Linked DNA regions of Homo sapiens: all the other regions are linked to region 1. The links are contacts of gene promoters, found by promoter capture Hi-C in blood cells and fetal thymus (Javierre and others, 2016). All regions are on one chromosome and are shown on one strand. The core of a region is centred on a gene start or on the middle of the fragment in contact, and the rest is flanking DNA. Distances in the headings are between cores, read along the strand shown.

What was found. Contacts are between HindIII fragments. The CHiCAGO score rates a contact against its expected background, and 5 or more counts as called.
Region 2: a fragment that was not itself captured here is called in contact with the fragment with the promoter of QRFPR in region 1 in 2 of 17 cell types (fetal thymus and activated CD4 T cells); the score reaches 6.3 in fetal thymus.
Region 3: a fragment that was not itself captured here is called in contact with the fragment with the promoter of QRFPR in region 1 in 1 of 17 cell types (M2 macrophages); the score reaches 5.0 in M2 macrophages.

Annotation. Positions count from the first base shown.
Region 1 is chr4:121,379,558-121,382,830 of GRCh38, reverse strand. QRFPR (pyroglutamylated RFamide peptide receptor) reads left to right here and starts at 1,813. Exons shown (of 6, transcript NM_198179.3): 1 at 1,813-2,523. The coding sequence starts at 2,184. RefSeq lists an enhancer at 1,243-2,027. The HindIII fragment of the contact is 7,115 bases long and covers 1-2,828 here.
Region 2 is chr4:120,173,407-120,176,715 of GRCh38, reverse strand. No RefSeq gene overlaps it. Among named protein-coding and RNA genes, the nearest start is that of MAD2L1-DT, 110 kb to the right of the region's middle. The HindIII fragment of the contact is 1,027 bases long and covers 1,258-2,284 here.
Region 3 is chr4:120,075,110-120,078,411 of GRCh38, reverse strand. All of the region lies in intron 1 of MAD2L1-DT (MAD2L1 divergent transcript), which reads right to left. Among named protein-coding and RNA genes, the nearest start is that of MAD2L1-DT, 9.8 kb to the right of the region's middle. The HindIII fragment of the contact is 1,023 bases long and covers 931-1,953 here.

The DNA of each region.
Region 1 (3,273 bases), core at 564-3,063:
CCTTTGAAATAAATCAAAGATGTAAATTTATGGAAAGACATTCTTCTCATGGATTGAAAAACTCAACCTAGTAAATATGTCAATTTCTATCAAAATCCCAGCAAGGTTTTTTGTAGACATAGACAAGTTGATTGTAAAATGTATATGAATAGGCACAGGTCCTAGAATAGTTACAATAATTTTGAAAAATAAGAATGAAGTATGAGAAATCATGCTACCTGATTTCAAAACTTATTATATAGCTACAGTAGTCAAGAATGTGGAGGATAGACACATAGATCAATTCAACAGAATAGAGAGCCCAAAACATAAAATGTAAAACTATAACACTTTTAGAAAAATACCTAAGAGAAAGTTTTTGAGAAATAGGCTTTGGTGAAGTTAGACTGAACACTAAAAGCTATCTATAAAAGAAAATATTGATAAATATGACTTCACTAAAACTAAAAGCTGTTCTGTGAAAGTCCCTGTTAAGAAGATAAATAACAAGCTACAGACTGGAAGAACATATTTGCAAACCGTTTACTAACAAAGGACTTGTATGTAGAATATAAAAAGAACTTTCAACAGCAAATAAACTAAACCATGCAATTAGAAACGGACAAAACACATGGAAAGACATTTCACCAAAGAAGATTCAAGGACGGCAAATAAGCACATGAGATGTTCAATATTACTTGCCATTAGGTAAATGTAAATTAAGGCCCTAAAGAGATATCACTACAGATCTATTAGAATAGCTTAAAAAAAAAAAGCAGCAAAACCAAATGCTGGCAAGGATGTGGAGAAACGTAACTTCTCATGCATTGATGGTAGAGATGGAGACTTGTACAGCCACTCTGAAAAGTAGTCAATCTCTTTAAAAATTAAATATACACATTACAGATTCAATAATCAAAACTTTTGGCATTTCCTATAGAAAGGAAAACTATGTTCACACAAAAACCTGTACATGATTCTTTATAGCAGCTTTATTTTTAATAGCTCAAAATGGTAATCAACCAAAATGTTCTACAAGAGGTGGATGGTTAAATAAACGGTGATACAGCCTCAGCAATAAAAAGAAACAGCCATTAATACATGCAACAACTTGGATGGATTTAAAGGGCATTAGGCTGAGCGAAGAAAATTCAATATCAAAAGGCAGCATATTGTATGATTTCCCTTACGTAATGTTCTGACAAAAGTTAAGAGAGAACATATTAGTGGTTGCCAGGAGTTAGAGATGGTGGAGGGAGGGGCTAGGTGTGAGTATAAAAAGCACCAGGGAGATTTTTGTGGTGATAGAAGAGTTTGTATCCTGACGGTTACGGGAATCTACACTTGAGATAAAAACATGCAAACACTGTACCTGTGTCAAATTCCTGGTTTTGTATTGTTCCGTAGTTAAATAAGATGTAATGAATGAAAGAAACTGGGTGAAGGGTGGGTACGCAGGATCTTTCTGTATTATCTTTGCCATTTCCCAAGTTCTATATTTTAACTATCTTAATTATTTTTCAATACAGAAAATAATTTAAAATAAGCCCTATTTGCCTTGGGTAGTTGTGGCTCCCATTATTACGCAAGAGGAGAAACTTGAAACTGTGGAACCCCCCAATACCCAGTTTCACATACAAGCATTACCTGACTGGGGCCATGCCCTGAGAAAGGCGCTGGGCGGCAGCAAGTTGGTGAGCCAGGGAAGTCTTCCCTCGCCCTGAGGGTGCGGGGAAGCGGCGTTGGCGCCACTGAAGCTGGGTGTGAGGGAGGCGTCACCGAGTTCAGCCCCACCCTCCACCGCTCCCCAAGCGGGTCCGGCGTCCGCATCGCATGGCCAGAAGGCGGGGAGCCAGAGGCGCCAGGACCCTCGCGTGGCGCTCCAGCACCCCAGACCGTGGCGGCGCCTCGCCTTAGGGAAGAGCAAGGGAAGAACTTTATTTGAACCGCGAACATTTTTTGGTCACTGAGATCGAGTCTCCCAGTGCTTTGGCTTCCCGCCTCTTTATCGTGGGTTTGATCCCTGAGCTGCTCTCCTTTCCCGAACCTCCCGGGGTGCAGCCTAGAGCCCTCCCGCGCGGCTGACTCCAGAGTAGAGGAAGGGAGGCGGCCTCCGGCTGGTCCCCCGAAGCCCTCGCTGCCCCGCAGATGCGGATGGCCAGCCAGTAGCGGGCGGTGGCCCCGCGTCCCGGGAGCGCACAGCAATGCAGGCGCTTAACATTACCCCGGAGCAGTTCTCTCGGCTGCTGCGGGACCACAACCTGACGCGGGAGCAGTTCATCGCTCTGTACCGGCTGCGACCGCTCGTCTACACCCCAGAGCTGCCGGGACGCGCCAAGCTGGCCCTCGTGCTCACCGGCGTGCTCATCTTCGCCCTGGCGCTCTTTGGCAATGCTCTGGTGTTCTACGTGGTGACCCGCAGCAAGGCCATGCGCACCGTCACCAACATCTTTATCTGCTCCTTGGCGCTCAGTGACCTGCTCATCACCTTCTTCTGCATTCCCGTCACCATGCTCCAGAACATTTCCGACAACTGGCTGGGGGGTAAGAGTCGCGCCCCGCTCCTTCGCTCCTTCTCTCTTAACCCTCTGCCTTTCAGGGGATCTCTCTCTCTCTCTCTCTCTCTCTCTCTCTCTCTCTCTCTCTCTCTCTCTCTCTCTCTCTCCTCTCTCGTCTGTCTGTCTCTCTCTCGTCTGTCTCTTCCTTACACTTCTCTGTCAAATGAATCCGGTGCTCTTTCTTAGAACTTCGCCACCTGTGTTCACCTGGACATAAGTTCTTTTGGCCGCCTCTGATTCCCCTCCAGTGCTTCCTCCTTGTGGCTTAGAGACATAGGTTGGGGAAAAGCTTCGGAAAGGTCCCGAGCAGTGAGGCAGGAAGTCGCACCCCTCGCCACTTATTTCAGCTCCCTTTCCCGTCATTACCAGGTTTTTCTCCCCTAGTTTTCTTACTAAAAGTGAGATAAAAATATTTCAAATAATTAAACCAAAGTTAAAAATCTCATTTCCTCATTCCCCCACCCTCCAGCCTCACTTCCCAGTTGCTTGCAGACAGCTTCTTGTACCTATGAGCATAAAACAAATATAATTCATGTGCAGAAAAAATATATTGAACTAGTCCTTTTAAAAACTGTATTAAGTGTCATGCAGGAAGAAGGAACACAGAAAACTGATGCCCTCCTATTATAAAAGAAGAGATAACATTCTCCTCCTTCCGTATAATGGGGGAAAAAAAATGACAGAGGAGAGGTGGAGTCACTGAGTTGGGAGCAGTGTGTGGAGGTTGGAAAAAAAG
Region 2 (3,309 bases), core at 522-3,021, 1.2 Mb after region 1:
CTCTATGAACCATAATTCTAACAGCCATAAAGGCAAAGCCTTGTGATTATTCTATATTCAGTAGGGGGAAAATATTTTCTGATCAGTTTATTTTATAACAATTTTGATAGTACAGTTTCATTTGTTTTCTAACATAAATGTTCTGAAAGTCTTACAAAATTAGTATCCATACTGTAAAATGGTTGACTCCACACATAACATTTTTATATTGGCAATACTATTTATAGCCATTCTTGTTATTATGAAAAACGAGTCTCTTAACTCAACTTAATTTGCTGCAATCCAAAAGTACTTATTGAGCAACCGACCCCAGGGTAGCAATTGTGAAGATTTAAAAGGTTATAAGATTTATTTGCTCCTTTAATTAGATTATAATCTTGTGGTATAGATAACATTTACCAATATGAAAATATCTCAGACTTAAGAAATAAATTGAGGTTGTTTCAAAATTGTGTGACTTCCATAGACAGCTACTTGAGCATTCCCAACTTTTTGGAACCCCCTTTCCTTTACTATTTAAATATAATATTATAGCATTGCTTCGGTCTCATGTACTATAAAAAAACCAATAACCACTCCAATACCTGAGAATTATTAGTGAGGCATTTCTCCTAGTTTCCTCTTGCTACATTTTCTGATTCTGCTCTTTCACTATTCACACTCAGCATCTCACCTCTGCAGCCACTGCCTGTGGTTGGCATACCTGTGCTCCCATTGGCCACAACTGAGTCCTTCGCTTCTCCAGAATACCAAAGACACAGCGTAGCTGTGTGTAACAGAATTTCACTGAGGATTTAAGATAGTAGAAGGTGGGTTTACAACATAGGACAGCCTTCAATTTAAAACTAAATGTTTATACTCTTTAGTTAGTCCTAAGCATGAGTAACTTCTCATTGTCCACTCTTCCCTAAAGCTATTGAATTAGCTACATTTTCTCAAACTCTCTGTCACCTCTTCTTCTCCAGTTCCTACAAGTTTTCTACTCTCTCTTATCCAGGACATCAGATAATCTCATTTTCTACCCTTTAATTTTGAAGATCAATTTGGCACTCTTGTAATTCATCTCCCAAAGAATCCTTATTTTCCTAAAAAAACAAGAATCATCTCTCCTAATGTAATAATGCCACTTGTCTAGTATGTCAAAGTGGTTGTAGTCAGTTCGTGCTTTAAACAGAATTTTTTAAATGATCATATTACATGAACAAGTGAGAATCAGTAAGCGAGACCTCTCTGCAGGTTGGACTTGTCAATCAAGCTTCATGAACAATAATGGTAATTAGAGCAGACTGAAGGGTCCTTAGTATTTCAACAGATTGAAAAGAAACAGGAAGATATTACATGATAGCAGAACAGAAAAAATAAGGGTTGGGATGTGGAACTGTGCCTGATTATGTGGGAGAAGGAGAGAAGAGTTGCTTGACTAGAATTGTGACATGGTGAGTAGTAGAATATGAGCTCAGAGAAATGGTTTGTAACCAATTATAGGATAACTAGAGAGGACAAAAGGAGTTTAGATTTGGAACAACAGAAAACAAGAGATAGATGCTTTTCAGGATTCTTTAACAGAAGTGAGAAATGGTAAAAGAAATATTTGTAGAAGATTAATCTGGTGATATAATAGGAGATATGTTGATGAAATAAAAGGCTGGAGGCAGAGAAATGAGTTTATATGATTTGACAGTAACTGGGAAGGGCACTGAGGAAATGAGTGAGCCTCGTGACACAGGAAGGGAGGAGGGTGGTGGGAATTGAGAACTAATGCAAAGGACCCACCATGTTCAGGCTTAAGGCTGCTGATCAGCAACGCGACCCCCGATATATTTAGTGATAGCTGGGACCCGGAGGTGAATAGGGGAGGAGAAGAAATCTTTCCTCTGCACGGCTGGGGTCATGCCATGAGCTAGAGTGGTAATTTTCCACCTCATCTGTCTTTTGAGACATCATTTGTACCTATCAAGACTTATGTACTACTGTTTACTAATATAGTTATGAAAAATTTTTAAATATTTAAATATCTTAATCTTTTACAAACTATTGTTGTTGCTTTTTATAACAAAGGTAATCAATGTTTAAAAGGAATAAAAGGTAAAAAGGATATAGGATAAAAATGTCAATGATCTATTATCTACAAATATACCCTGCTAACATTCTGCAGTAAAATGTACTGTATTTTAACAGATTAACATATAACATATTAAAGTCAGTTTTGTCTTGTGCCTAGTTCATATCACTTTTTATATTATGTTTTCTATAAAGGCTTTAAAAATAGAACAGTTATTAAGCTTTCTGCATTGTTTTCTCCCATTTAAACTAATAAAGAAAATGAACACTTGGTATTAGTATTGACAGGGTAGAATGGTTAAAATAAGGAAGCTGATAAAATAATGCACATTTCTCAAATAGAGCCCCATTAACAGAAATGTGTCTCAGGTTTTGATTCCATTCATTTTGGCCCATGATATTAGCTGTCTCAGAAACATCATATTTGCAAATCACTCATGTTTAATAAAGACAGGCATTGTGCAAGTACTGAAGCTGAGGAAGATATCTTGCATTCTGAGTTTACACTGGCCCCAAGATCCACAAAGTATTTGCTTTTTAGGCACTAGCCATTTGAAAAGCGGTTTTCTTTCTGCCACTTATGGCAGCGAAGAATGAAAAAATATAGTAAAATACATTATTTGAAGCCAAAGACAAAGCAGAGTGCTCTCAGATGTCATTTATTTTACTTAATAACTCTAGCCATAAAAAACTCAGCAAATCCTATAGAGAGCTATTTTTTTACAATTGAGAACTATTTTCTGTCCATAAATGATGACATATGTATAAAGAAGAAAAAATGACTTGCCATTATCTCCTTAGGGCTCTAAACATAGCTAGAAGTAAATTTTAAACTGTTATAAGTTTGCAAAGTTTTTGATACATAGCAGTTTAGCCATTGCTTTTCTGGGCTTACATCTGACAACAAAATATATTTCCTATTTAGTAGGAAAGTTTTGTAGACCTTCACTACTCCCTGGAAAATAAGATGTCTAGGAAGAAAGAATGAGCTAACCTGGTATAATTGTGTGGGGTTTTGGAGATGAGATCTGGTCCATATTTGTCAATGACCAGTGTGTTGACCTTGGGAAGGTTATTTAATCTCTCTATATTTGAACTTGATGCTAATATACTTACAAGCATCCTTCTCATTAGCCAAGTCATTACTTAATATGGAATACTAGAAGAAAGCAAACCAACAATGATTATTTAAGCACAGAGTGTTGAAAAGACTGTTTACATATTAAGCAAAATTATCTACCCATCACA
Region 3 (3,302 bases), core at 193-2,692, 1.3 Mb after region 1:
ATCTTTTTACATTCCTGCTGTATTGCATATTCTCATTTCCTTTTGTCTGAGCTATCAATAAAATTGGCAGGACAAAGAGTAGGCTATTTCAAATGCCATTCTATCCCTTGGCCAGAATATTTGTTTAATGCCTCCTCTTAGTTCACTGAAGATCTTTTAAGTAGAAAATTGACAAGATCTTTTAAGCACAAAATTTTTAAAAAATTCCTGTTTTTGCAGCCCTAGTCAGGGTACCCCTTTTGGCCATCCACTCTTAGCCAGATGAGCCAGTATTGCACCCTGGATCCTACCTCTTGTTTCTTTTCCTCCAGTTTTGGACTCTTTTCTTCCACTTTTGGATTATTTTCCTTGTTCCAATTCTGTGACTTTCCAGCCATTCAGCTCCATTGGTTTCCATTGCTGAATGGGTCTCAGGAGTTACATAGCAAGGATGGAGGAATATTAAGGACCCACTATAGTTTGCCTCAAATTAGAGTTATCTAAAATATAGTCAGATCTTTGATGCTTTCAGGATTCATATTCTGGTACCATCTAGATTGCTTGGATTTGACTCCAGTTCTCCTAGCTGGGTGACCTTAGCTAAATTATTCAACTTCCTTCTGTAACTTAATTCAGGTAATAGTAGTATCTAACTCTTGAGCTAATGAGGGATTAAATAAAATGATTCTTGTAAAGCACATAGAAATGTGCCTGGCAGATAGTATGTGGTTAATAATGTTGGCTATCATTATTATATATGTTATAAGAGTTTCTATCTCATCTGTGCCTTAAGTTGTATTATCTAAAGCCTCCTTTAGTTATGCTAAACTAAACATGTACCAACCCAGGAAAGGTGCGTGGAAAAGTGGTGAAAAGCTGTCTTATTAACAACAACAGTAACAATATAATAATAAAACAATAACAATAACATATTAGCATTAAGCCAAAGCTTCATTTAAATTATCTCATGTAATACTCAGAAAAATTATATGTGACAAGTACTATTGTTACATCCATTTTACCGATAAGGAAAATAACTCCTATATAATTCTTCTTAAATTGTCCAGATAGTCTGCTTCTAAGAAGTTTCTCTGGAACATGCTAGGCTAACATCTTTTTTTGACATATCTGCATGTGATCTCTGCTGTTGGTAGATTGCTTGGAGATTCCTGCTTCTTTTAGACAAGACCATGACACTCCCTCATTATGCAACCAGTAATAAAGTTTTTTTTTTTTATGTGATCTAAGTGGACTTTTATGACAGGATTTGTTGAAACCCCTAAGATGGCTTTTATTCTGTGCTTTGGGCAGTGGTAAATAGATGGGGTTCAAGAGTCTGGAGCACTCCTTCCCAATAAGAATGTATTTTCCTTACAGGATTGTTCTGCAAAGTCCATTATAAAGAATGATAGCTCACGCCGGGCATGGCGGCTCACACTTGTAATCCCAGCACTTTGGGAGGTCAAGGTGGGTGAATCACTTGAGGCCAGGAGTGCAAGACCATCGAAACCTTGTCTCCACTAAAAAATACAACAATTAGCTGGGTGTGATGGTGCATGCATGTAATCCCAGCTACACAGGAGGCTGAGGAATAAGGATCACTTGAACCTGAGAGGCGATGATTGCAGTGAGCTGAGATGGTGCCACCACGCTCCAGCCTGGGTGAAAGAGCAAGACTCTGTCTCAGAAAAAAAAAAAAAAAAAAAAGAATGATACTTCAAATTTCCACATAGGCATGCAGGTCAGCCATCCTAACTAGGTCTATTCCATATTTACCTAGAAGAGAGGACAAGCACGGAACACTACTATTCCCAACTCAGGTGCCTCATCCCCTAATCAATAAGGTTTCTGCAAACATCCTCAAAATCAGTGGCTTCCAAAGTGGAATATATGCAAAAAACAATCCTTTTGGGAGTATAGGAAGGAATGTTACAACTTCTATTTAATTTATGTTTTAACCTAGGAAAATAAGCTTTACTAAAAAAATGGATTTCAAAAAATGGACTGACATTGCACACTCACACAGTCTCCATGTCAGAAGGTCACGTTCTTACTCATATGTGGAAGTTAAAAAAGTTGATCCCACAGAAGTAAAAAGTACAACAGAGAATACTAGAGGCTGGGAAGGGTAGGCGGAAAGAGAGGACAGAGAGATTTGTTAAAGGAAACAAAATTACAGCTAGATAAGAGTAAGTTCTAGTGTTCTACAGCACTTGTAGGATGACTACATCCTACAAGTTAATAATAGTTTAAAATAGCTAGAATGGGGATATTGAATGTTTGAAACACAAAGAAATTATAAATGTTTAAGATGATAGATAGGCTGATTACCCTGATCTGATCACTATACATTGTATAGACCACAACATCACTATGCACCCTGTAAATATGTACAATTATTATTTGTCAGTTTTAAAAATTTAGAAAAAAAAGGGAGTCATAGGCCATGATTGGTACCCTGAGGAAATGCAAGTCAGCTGTGCCAGATTTACTGGCTCTTTCTCTTTGCAGTACTGTGCTAACAAGAACTTCAGAAAAATTAACATTCTTCCATTCCGTTTTTCAAAAGACACTCATGTTATGGAAGGAGCACGTTTGAATAAACTTTTTTTTTTTTTTGAGATGGAGTCTCGCTCTGTCACCCAGGTTGGAATGCAGTGGCACGATCTCAGCTCACTGCAAGCTCCAGCTCCCGGGTTCATGCCATTCTCCTGCCTCAGCCTCCTGAGTAGCTGGGACTACAGGTGCCCGCCACCACACCCGGCTAATTTTTTGTATTTTTTTTTTTTTTACAGGGTTTCACTGTGTTAGCCAGGATGGTCTCAATCTCCTGACCTCGTCATCCGCCCTCCTCAGCCTCCCAAAGTGCTGGGATTACAGGCATGAGCCACCGCACCTGGCCTGGATAAACTATTTTTTAAAAAAGTCTCATCTGTACAATTGAAAAGTTTGGAAACAGAGTTCTCTAAACTATAATTTTTCTAAATTACAAATTAGTTCCAAAACTAACTAAAAGGTCAAACAATGCATTTAATTAGTTCCCAAACTAATAGGAAGGTATTGTTTTGATATTTTTTTAAAAAAAAAAGGGTTAAAAAACTGCTTAAACCATTGTTTTTGAACACATTCATTAAAATTATTAAAATATCATATGTCACTTTTTAACCAGCTTGTAAGAACACCTAATTGGTACCATTAAATTGAAATTTAATAATCCCTTTTCAGCAAAAACTTTGCATAATTGCTAATACAGGTAAATAAAAAGAATAAGAAGTCAACAATGTACTTTCTTCCATTTGGACCTTCATATCTTTGTGGTGTAT